3 separate regions of the Homo sapiens genome follow, and regions 2 and 3 are each linked to region 1. The links are contacts of gene promoters, found by promoter capture Hi-C in blood cells and fetal thymus (Javierre and others, 2016). All regions are on one chromosome and are shown on one strand. Each heading gives the region's core, a stretch centred on a gene start or on the middle of the fragment in contact. The rest is flanking DNA. Distances are from core to core; before and after follow the strand shown. Region 1 holds the start of CDK6 (cyclin dependent kinase 6). Region 2 overlaps CDK6 (cyclin dependent kinase 6). Region 3 has its middle 110 kb from the start of SAMD9.

Region 1 (3,644 bases), core at 809-3,308:
GTCCCCCACGGGATCCCAAGGGTGGGAGAAAGGGGTGTTCGCCACAATTTCGCTTGTCGTCTCCTTAAAGAATAACTTCAGGAAGGGGATAGCATAATCGCGCCTCGTCCTTAAGTTTTAAACTGATTTCGACCTGAGCAAAACTCAACCTCCCTTTCAAAGGGTGGGGGGTGGGGGGTTAAATCCTGCGCCTCCAGGGGTGAGAGAGAAGGTCTCTGTCCTCGGGGCCCGGACTCGCGAACCTTTTCCCATTCCCAGGACCTCCCCGCTGTAGGTAGCAGAGGTGGCTGCCCCATTCCCCCTCCGGCTAAAGGCCCGGTCCAGTCTGCAGCCGGACGCCCCCGGAGCCCTCTGCACAACAAAGCGCCAGAGTAGGGTACCCTAACTTTCCCTCCCCATTCAGCAGCTATCTGGGACCTAGGGGGCCTCCCTCCTCCAGGGCCGCCGCGGCCTCGGCAGGACTTTCACCACGACGGCCGCATGTCCGGAATTCCCGGGGCACCTCGGAATTACCTGCCTCGCAACCGCTGGCCCGCTCGCCTTTTGCCAGGAATTAAACAAACGGCGCGACCCCCACGATGAGCGGGTGGAGCGGACCGCGGCGAGAGCAGAGCTTCTGGCACTCACTACATTCAGAACTTTCCTTAAAAGCCGAGGAAAGAGCCCCCAGGGACTGCCCGGGGGTCTGAGCCAGGTCGAGGGCCACACAGGTAGCCGGGGAGCCGCCGCCGGCCGCCCAACCCGCCTGTCCTGCATCCCCCCAACCCCCTCCCGCTCGAGTCTAGCCCCGGGCTCCGCAGCGAAGGAAGCGTCGGGGACGTCCCACCCCCGCAGGGAACTGCGCCTGCTGCCCCCGCCGGGCCCCGCACTGCCCTGGCTCTCCCCCCACTCGCCCCCCAGACGGTCGGCTTCGGCGGAGAGAAACGGGAGCAGCAATGCCTTTTCCCCCCCTCTCCTCCACTTTTTTTTGTTGTTGTTGTTGCTTTCCCACGCTGGCTGAATGTGACTTGACCCCATTTCAAAAAAAGTTTGACATAGTGCTTCAACATTTCCGCATTCCTCCGCGACTACAAAGGCTGCAGCCGCCTCCTTCTGCTTTCTGTCTCTGCTCTCTGTCTTCACACTCAATGAAATCCTTCATGCGCCTCTCCCGAAGCCTGCCAAGCACCACAAGGGTCGCCACCAGCACAGCGACAAGAGGCCACACCGGGGACCGCGACTCCCGCGTGTGCGCACACGCAGATGCGCCCATATGCACACGGACGGGCGCGCTGCGGGGACCAGGGCTGCTCACTGCGGGGCGTGTGTTTAACTCCAATATTTTAAATTATAAAAGTAAACTTGGAAACTACAGCAAACGTGCGTCTTCGCGGGGCTCCAAGCCTGGGCACTGGCCGGCTGCGTGCACTTTTCTGTGTATAACACGCCCGCAGGAAGCCTGCGTTAACATTTATCTCGTGGAGGGGAAGGTGGAGCCCACACCCACACCTCAGCGAGCTGGAGAGGGAGTTTTCGAGGGGGAAATGCAAGCACATTCTCCAGCATGGAGTCCCTAGAGGCAGTGCATTTTAAACCCTAAATGTGAATTATTATGTGAGTGTCCGAGTAGAGTTCCAGTTCCGTTTGGAGAAACTGTATGAGGCGTGTTCCGTGTGGGTGTGTGTGCGTACGGATACGTGGAAGCAGGATCTCGGTGTCGCGGGTGTCCCTAGGCTGGGATCTCCCCCTCTCATCAGATAAGGAGAATCCTCTAGCTCCCCAAAACTGGCCCCCATAACCAATCCCGTCTCAGTTCGTAAGGGGTTAACCAAAGCCGATTCCAAGGAAACACAGGTCCCCCCCACCCCCCGCCACCCTCCACTTACCCCACCCACAGTTCTGCCTCGGACCCCGGCCAATCCCCCAGATCTCCCCCGGGACCCCCCACCCCGCAGCCCACCCACCCGAGCGCACAGCTCCTCACCTGAGGGGCCCAGTCGCGTCGGGCCTCCCGAGGGGGCTGCGAGTGTCAGTCGGCTCTCCGCACGTGTCCGCGGCCTCGCGGAGCAGGTAATCAGACTCTGGGGAAGGAGTTACCAGCACTCTCTCCGGCGAGGGGGTGGGCACAGCGGCGGAGGGCGGAGGGACGGCGGAGGGCGCCGCCCGCGCCGCTCGCTGGGGGCGGACGGGGGCCGCTGGGCTCCGGCCGGCGCTGGGGGCCCCAGCCGGGGAGGCAGCTGGGGCGACCGTGCGGGGTGGGGGCAGGGACCCGCGAAGCCAACTCTGCCGGAGACCCACCCCCCGGCGGGGCTGGGGGCTCGTGGCGCAGTGGCAAGAAAGTGTGCAAATTAAAGCCTTCCGGAGAGAAATGAGGCGGCCGAGTCCCGGCAGTGCTCCGAGCTCCGGGCTCCCTAGCTCCCTTCTACGAGTCGGGGGCTAGAAGGGCGCGGTGGGGGTGGGGGTGGGGGGGAGAGTTAAATGAAAATTTCCGGCTTTCGCTGAAACTGTAGTAGGGGGATCCTGCGACTAAAATAAGCGGCATTAGTGGGAGAGAGTGGGACGTGTCGTCGGGAGTCGGCGGAGTTTCCAAACCCAGGGTCGCCCAGAGTTGGGGTTTTGACAGGGTGAAGCGGGGGGCATCCTCACTGTGTGACGTGGACGGATGGGAAAAACACAAAACAACCAACAATAATTATGAGCGGCCAATGGGGGTGGTAAATACCAATACTTTCCAAGAAACTGAAAAATCAGACCAAAAAATAACTCTTCTCTTAAAAAAATAAAGAAAAAGTTTGGCAGGATGCCTTGCAGAAAAGAAAATACTAATCTATCCAAGCACTTTTCACTTTCAGCATGAGCTACATTTGTTTTGTTTTCCTTCGCTTCCTTTCTGCCTCACAAAGCCCTATCTTTTCCTTTTAGACAGAGGATATGGTTTGGAAATTGTCAGGCACTCTTATGGTTAACGATCTACTTGAAGGGGCTGGCGGGCTCACAATTATTAAGTGGTTAGTAACTGCTGAGGGTTCACTAACGTATTTCAGAGGAGCTAAAAAGACTAAAATTTAGTGTAAATAATAGAACTGCAGATAGTAGATACATACACAAAAAGAGGAGTGCTCAGTTTAAATGCATTATTGGAAATCTGAAATTTGAAACCTTGTAAGAATGTATACTTTACCTGCTGAGAAACCCTTGAATACAATTATTTCAGGTGAAAATTAGATTTTGGAGAAAAAAAAGTCTTTAAAACTTTCTACAATGGAGTAAAAGAAAACTTGAAATAGCTGTCTTTTTGGAAAGAATTTGGTGTTCTCCCCAAAATCTCTATCTGTAGAATACTTGAAACCCTTTAAAACATCTTAAAGCAAAACTTTTCACAAAATTATTTACTTAAGTGCTTTGTAGAAAAATTAAAACCTGGCAAAATTCTGTTTGAATTGGAAATACTACTTCTATAAATCTTTTGACTTTAAAACCATGTTACTAATCTCACAGTAAATCAAATTTTTGCCTTTATAAAACTGATTCTATGTTATAGTGTGAGGTAAGGCTAGGGAAATAAAAATTGATGCATTTTCAGTAGCACATATTTTGCAATGCATTATAATACTTTTTTCTTTAAAAATAAAAGTGAATAATTGTATGTCTTTAAGCTTAAGATA
Region 2 (3,644 bases), core at 567-3,066, 220 kb before region 1:
TTTCTTGACTGAATGAATGACTAGGCTTTCTTTACTTAAATGATCAAAATGGGTGTATTATCCATCCTTAAGAACAATTTATTTGCAGACAATTGTTCAGAACCTAGGTAACAAGTAAAATATTGAAGTTACAGAACATTATAGAGACTATTAATCATCCCAAAAAACAAGTGCTAGGAAAGAGTTAAATATGCGCAGAAAAATAAAGTTAGAATGAAATCTCTTTTAGAAGTACCTCTTTAGTCTTCATCAGATTTGTTTTTCTCTAAAAGTGCCACCTTGTGGAATATACCGGAATAAAACAAGAAAGCTCATCTCTTAGGACAGTGTGAATGTTTAGAAAGACTTTTGCAAGAAAAGTCACCTTCCTTTCCTACCACATCAACTTCAAATTGCTGTAACAGTATTTCAGCAGATGCTCGAAAAGAGCCTGTATTTATTTTCAGGTGGCTCTTGTTTTCTTCCTAAGGCTAGACAAGGTAACAATATGTTGAAGGAAGTCCACTTCTACTCATTTAGCTAAACGTTATCACTTCCTGGAAATGCTGAGAAATAGAAAACATTTTGAAAAGCTGATTGGCACTTCATTAAGAAAATAAAAATCCCCAGAAAGGCTACTTGAGAAAAAAACGTGTAAAAATTGGACCCCTTCTGTTTTTACATTTCTGTTGCTTACAAAGGTCAGAAGATAGAGAGACCAAAGGATTATTTTTGGTTTATTTTCTGAAAAAGTACAAGATAGAAATGCTTGAGATATAGGGATGTATTAAAATTGGGTTGTGAATTGCATTGATATAGAAAGGGAGTAAATAAGAAATGAAAATGCTAGTTTCTCATGCTTTTGAGGAAAACAGCATTTCTAATTACTCTAAGGACTTACATTTCTTGGCACACTTTGGTAGCCTCAATAAGTTTTTCCACTGTGGAGATGGAACATGTAAATATCTTCCTAATTATATACCCAAATATACTTAATGGACATGATAAATGGTTTTGGGTAAGGTTCACAATTTTTCAAAAGTATTGGTGGCATAGGAAACACATGCCTTTTAAAAATTTATTTTTTCAATGAACGTTCTTAGGCATGTGTAAGAAGTATTGCTTCATGTGGTTGCCTCTTCCCTTGAAATGGGAAAAAAGTACAGGTAATTTAGTTTGCTTGGGACAGCTTCTCCATAACATTTGTTTTCGACCATATTAATCCCACAGTTACCAGATGACCTTAGTATAAATTTTTACAATATATTTGTTCATAAAGAATATATCCTTCAAAATATATATAGCTTTGAAACTACCCTTTAAATACCTTCATTTTCTCCAGAATTTCCTTTATCTATTGCCCACTGTTTTATGAATAATTTTTAAAGCCTTAGAAATCATACATCTTTATCTGTCACAATGTGAAACATGCATTCTTTTGAATTATATAAATATCTAAGAGTTTATAATAACATTCCAATATTTTCTTTCCAGGGTAAATATTCTGTAGTTTCTATACTAACATAATTAAGTAATTATGGTGGCATATTCACTTTTAACATTATTTTTTCCTAGACTCAACTATGCAATTAAAGCCTGCTTTTGGAAAATGTAAGACACTCTCATGTGCTTATCATAAGAATAGTCAAATTGTCACTTAAAAGAAAAGCAATATTTTAGAAGAATTTTAATATGTTTATGATATTAGGAAGCTTACATAATTTAATTTCCACAATGGAACAATAATGGCCATTACTGACTTTAATAGGCACCACTTGTAAAAGAAGCAGCTACAGTTTCTTAAACACTCACTTTAAATACATAATTTAAAGTTCAAAATGTTTGGTACTATTTAAGAGTTTTCTCATCAAGATGGATAGTACATTCTGGAGAGTCAAACTATACATTTCTCTATAGAAAAGAAACATGCTTTATTTAAGATAGGAACATCTCATGCCTTCTAAAGCTTTCATTTTTATTTAACACAATGCTGAGATTCTATTCTTAGGTGAATAATTTTCAACTATTTTTAGTAAGTCACCTGGGGCTAAATGAAAAGTCTGCCATTCACAGTGTGTGCTTCCTGAGAGAAAATCATGAGAATACAGGGGGCTGAAATGGCCCCAAGCTTTCTTCCAAAACAGGTTCTTTGCACCTTGAGTTCCCATCCACTTCAAAGGAGGGACAAAGTGGGAGGCTCCAACCCACTGGGTTCTTACAAGTGCTTAGAAATTGTATTTTTAAGATTAGGTCCTTTTTATTACCCTTTGCCATGGGATTTCTTATGAAAGCTAAATGGACAAGTTTCTCTTTTTCTCTTTTTATATGTAGGTTGTTTTGACTCCACCCTGTGCAACAGTTCCCAAAATGCCTGAGCCGCCAGAACCAAACATCAAACAGAAACTAGCAGGGACATTCTTGTACTGGTCCTACTATGAAATTCAAACATGATTTCAAATCTGTCACAATATTTTAACTTGCTATGAGCTGCTTCAGTGTAACCTTGGGGCAATATGCCCTTTTCAGTTCACCACTGCTTAGCTTTTGGCAAAGATGTTTGAAACCATATGTTACAGAAGAATAAGCTGTAGTCACTAAGTTCTTACTCTACTATCTGCTTCAAAATGCCCTAACGGCAAGACTGCTTGTGTTGGATCTGGATTTCAGAAATGGCGAATCTGGACATAAAATACATAAATCAAGAGAGTATTCACTCAAATGCAACAACTACACCGATGGAAGAACTGGGGACAGATTTTTACAAAGTTCAGAGAGGCTGAGATGCCCTTTCATTCTGTGTCATCAGAAGATAATCTGCCAACGATTGAATGCCAGAATGTTTGTGCTTTAATTTTTCTTCATAAGCACTGCCTAGAAATGAGTCAAAAGCAGATGCTAGGAATAAAAGTTGAGCTCTCTACTCATTTAAAATTCTAAAGAATGCTGAAAAATTCCAGTTCAGAACAGCTGCATTTTTCTTGAGTGAACTTATGAAAACACTTTTACAACAGCAAAAACTAAAGCTATGTTCACTCTAGCCATGAATACTAACCAAAAAGCTCAGATGAATCAGTGCAGTGAGTTTTTAAATTCAATTTGTAGGCCCTAGCAAAAATGTCTTTGTATTTTGACCCTCGATCAAAGGAAAGGCAGAACTCACTTTTCCATGTGAGACTTTGAGTAGACCTGACCTTGAATGCTGTGGATTCATTATATCTCAAGCATTTATAGTACTGACAACACCTAATCAATGTTGTCACAACGAAAGTAGAAAACATTTGTATGGCCCATCTCCTTTATTATCTTGCTCTAGAAAACAATGTTCCTGTTCCTCAAGCTACTGAATTAGAACAATGTTAAGTAGTACAGCAATTAAAAAAGAATAGTTCCCAACCCCAAAAGCTCTTCAGGAGAAACATCTCCTAGTTTTTTCTCTTGTTCAAGATAGTCATATATCACATTAAGCTGCAAAGAATTCAGTACAACTTAATAATGCATAAACATGATCTGAATTATTTTCTGAGTGCAGCAACCTCCATTCTTTGAAAATCCTAACCCTAAACATAATCTAACTGTTGCATGATCTAACTGTTGCATGCACTCTGAGTCAGAAAGCACAGGTGGCTAAACTTTCCAAAAGATACTTTCTGTGTCCTCTGGTTACT
Region 3 (3,644 bases), core at 472-2,971, 170 kb after region 1:
CCCATCACCATCTCCATGAGGCACAGACTTCGCCACAGAGGCTGTCCATTACAGTTATCCAGATCCCAGGTGAGGGAAAATGGTCATGGGCAGAAACTGTCAGGCAGCCAAGACTCATGCATGGAGGTAGTGACCATTTTGCTACTGCTTATTTGCTTTAGAGCAAAAAAAAAAAAAAAAAAAAGTCATGGTTGAGAACCACATATTTGATTGTTCCCTAACAGAGAACACAGAGAAGTTGTCAGCATAGGTATATTCCAAATACTTCATGAAACTAAAAAATTAAGTGTTTTTTATCTGAGGTTCAAATCTAATTGTGCACTTTGTAATTTATTTGCTAAATTTAGCAATCCTAGTCCTTAAAGAGAAAGGCTTCCCATTATCTCCCATTCTTGGAAGCAAAAAATAATTGAAAATAGCCAAAATAAACACAGAGCAAGAAGCCCAGAAGCAAGAGTCCGTGATCCCTAAATATGGTTTATTTAGGATAAAATTATTTGGTCCCTCAGTTCTCCCTCCAGCTCTGCTGCTTGAGACACCACAGTTGAAAGCAGGTGCTTTAGGGAAAGGATTCATGTGAACTGGAAGTTGGACTTCTAACTCTGAGTGAGTTTGAGCAACCCCTTAATCTCATCGAACCTAGTTTTCTCATTTGTAAAATTAAAACACTAGACCAGGTAACCTCTGAGGTCTTTCCAATTCTAAAAATATTCTCCTTTGTATAAAAGAAGTGAGGAGAAATCAACATTTGCTGAACATATATTAAATGGTCAGTATTGTACAGGATAGTTTAATACATTATTTAATCCTCAAAATAATTCAGAGAAGCAAGTTCTACTATCCTTGAAATCAATGCATGGCAATTCTTGAAGGCAACCTTTATTTTTTCTCTTCTCTCATTTCAAGGAAAGACTACATAGATGCATTACAGAAACGAGTTAAATTCCACAACACGTTAACTAGACATGGTTAGTTCACTGATGATTTGGTGGGGTGACAAAGTACCGATAACATACCAGATTTTCTGCTCTTAATTATGAATTTCCAATCTGCCACTAGCTATCAATTCTCAAATTCTTTTCTTCCAAACCAGTCTGTTGTCCCTAGACTCCTTCCTCAATGGGATTAGACTCAGTAATAAAGTCGAATTCAGGGCATTTTCAAAGTGTGGAGAGGCTGTTTGAACTGGCCAATTGTCACTGAGAACTATCTTTCAAGCACTGAACATCTGTTGGTAAAAAGCTTCTGGCTGACTTTCAAGAGAAACTCTTTAACTTCTATTGATAAGTAGTTCAGTTAAGTAGAAAAAAAAAACCCTGTGAGATTAATCAAATAGAAAATACACACAAAAGCGTTGTATTCTACAATATGCCTTAGTGTTATGCTGCAATTATAATTGGGTTAAAATGGCAAAGATGAGGAGCATGAAATCATTTTAGGAAGCCTTTTGAGTAAGGCTCTTTTCTTTCAGCATAATACTCTTGAAATTAACCCACAGTTGTGCATATCATTAGTTTGTTACTTTTTGTTACTGGGTAGTATTCTATTGTATGAATGTACCACAGTTTATCTATTCATCCTTTTTGACCATTTAGGTTGTTTCCAGCTTTTGGTGACTGTGAATAGAACTGTAGAAATAAAAGATAAAAATTTCATATAGGTTTTTGTGCAGACATATGTTTTTATTTTTTGTGGGTAAATACTTAGAAATGGAATTGCTACATTGTATGGTAATTTTTTGTTTAATGTGTAACTAGCTGCTAAACTTTTTCTCAATGTGATAGTACCATTTTACATTTCCACCAGCAGTGTATGAGAATTTCAGGTGCTCTGCATCCCAATCAACATTTGCTATTGTCATTCTTTTAAATTAGCCACTCTGATAGGTGTAATAAATTAGCCACTCTGATGCGTGTATCATATGATGGCTTCAACTTGCATTTCTCTAATAAGTAATGACATTGAGCATCTTTTCTTGTGCTTATTTGCCATCTGTGTATCTTCTTTTGTAAGTTATCTATTCAAACCTTTTGCCTATTTTTTAAAAATTGTGTGGTTTGCTTTCTTATGAGTTTTGAGAGTTCTTTTATATATCCTGGATACAAGCCCTTCATCAGATATGTGATTTGTAAATATTTTTCCCACCTTGTGTCTTGCTTTTTAATTTTCTTAACATTGTCTTTCAGATCTTTGAAAGTGCAGAAGCTTTTAATTTAATGAAGTCTAATTTACCATTTTTTTCTTTTTGATTCATGATTTCAGTGTCCTAAGAAATCTTTGACTAACTCAAGGTAACCAAGATTTTCTCCTTTTCCTTTTTTCTACATATTTTATCATTTTAGCACTTATGCTTAATTCTGTGAGCCATATGGAGTTAATTTTTTAAATATGGTGGCAAAGGTTCACATTTTTTTCATATGTATACCCATTTGTCCAATACCATTTATTGAAACAACTCTATTCCCCATTTAATAACCTTGACATCATTGTTGAAAATCAAACGGCTGTGTGGGTCTATTTTTGATTCTCTTCTATGTTTGTCCTTATGCAAACACCACATTGACTTAATTAGTGTAGCTTTTTACTAAATCTTAAAATCGAATGGTGAAAAACCTCTAACGTTTAGTATACTCTCCTAGAGTGTTCAAATTTGGAAATACTAGGAGGGGATATTTCTTTTTCCCAGAAAAGGACTCTGAACACTTGTACATATTCTGGAAGCATCCTTTGCTTCCTGCAGTAATTTATATCTGTTACTACTAAGCTTTAAGTATTCCAAGAGTTCATTATAAGTTCTTGCTTTCATGTGCTCTTGCAAATGAACCCCTTAAACAGATCACTTCACGTCCATGATGTGTGTAATTCGTCATGGAAGTCACTAATCCCAGATCTCCATGGAAGGCAAGTGGTAGCATTATTGAACAGCTCGACTTTTCTGACTGTCAAATTATCTTGCTCACCCATGGTTTCCTGATGCTTGGAACTCTGGCTTCTCACCTCAGAGGCTTTGTAAACAAAACAGTTTGTATAGGTTGCATTTGAAATGCAAAAAGCTTACTTTTTAAGTGTTGGGAATTCCAGGGAACATAAAATCACTTTCACCAATTCAATCTATAAAAATGAGAAATCAAGAACGTTAGTCATGCAAACTATAAAGTCACAAATCAAGGAGATTTCTGCTGAAGACAGAGCTTTATCCTTGTTTTTTGGATGCAGGGACCCTCCTTTCTATCACCAAAGGAATATTTTGGACAGAAACAGTTCATTTGCTAGGGTATTTTCAAATTGGAAGAAGTGTGCCTTATATCACACTTACCAGTCTATATTGTCCAATCTATCATTTTCTCTCCCCAAACTAGAAAAGGGCAAAATGTGATAAATATGAGTTTAATGGTGAGTAACAAGTATCTTTGCATAATAACAGCTCATTTGTTATCAATATTATTGAAGGAATAGAACAAAGTATCAGCTTAAAAATTCAACCTTTTTAACAAAACGAATTAACACTTCCTTGTCTTGGTGATGGATAATGCTGAACATAATTTAATCTCACCTAGTAACTCAGGGACTACTGAGGGTATACTGTTGTTTGCCCCTGCATTAAATAGTCCCTAATTATTGTGCTTTTTACTTACTGTATTCAC

What was found. The method cuts DNA at HindIII sites, captures the fragments that hold promoters and counts their contacts. A CHiCAGO score of 5 or more calls a contact.
Region 2: a contact is called between a fragment that was not itself captured here and the fragment with the promoter of CDK6 in region 1, in 16 of 17 cell types (fetal thymus, erythroblasts, activated CD4 T cells and 13 more). The highest score is 19.5, in fetal thymus.
Region 3: a fragment that was not itself captured here is called in contact with the fragment with the promoter of CDK6 in region 1 in 1 of 17 cell types (erythroblasts); the score reaches 5.8 in erythroblasts.

The regions. Positions count from the first base shown.
Region 1 is chr7:92,834,515-92,838,158 of GRCh38, forward strand. CDK6 (cyclin dependent kinase 6) reads right to left here and starts at 2,059. Exons shown (of 8, transcript NM_001145306.2): 1 at 1,964-2,059. It overlaps CDK6-AS1 (CDK6 antisense RNA 1), which reads left to right and starts at 1,969. Exons shown (of 2, transcript NR_110088.1): 1 at 1,969-2,049. RefSeq lists silencers at 642-891, 2,002-2,361 and an enhancer at 1,472-1,551. The HindIII fragment of the contact is 6,850 bases long and covers 1-3,633 here.
Region 2 is chr7:92,609,815-92,613,458 of GRCh38, forward strand. CDK6 (cyclin dependent kinase 6) reads right to left here. Exons shown (of 8, transcript NM_001145306.2): 8 at 1-3,644. Among named protein-coding and RNA genes, the nearest start is that of FAM133B, 21 kb to the left of the region's middle. The HindIII fragment of the contact is 254 bases long and covers 1,690-1,943 here.
Region 3 is chr7:93,007,856-93,011,499 of GRCh38, forward strand. No RefSeq gene overlaps it. Among named protein-coding and RNA genes, the nearest start is that of SAMD9, 110 kb to the right of the region's middle. The HindIII fragment of the contact is 963 bases long and covers 1,241-2,203 here.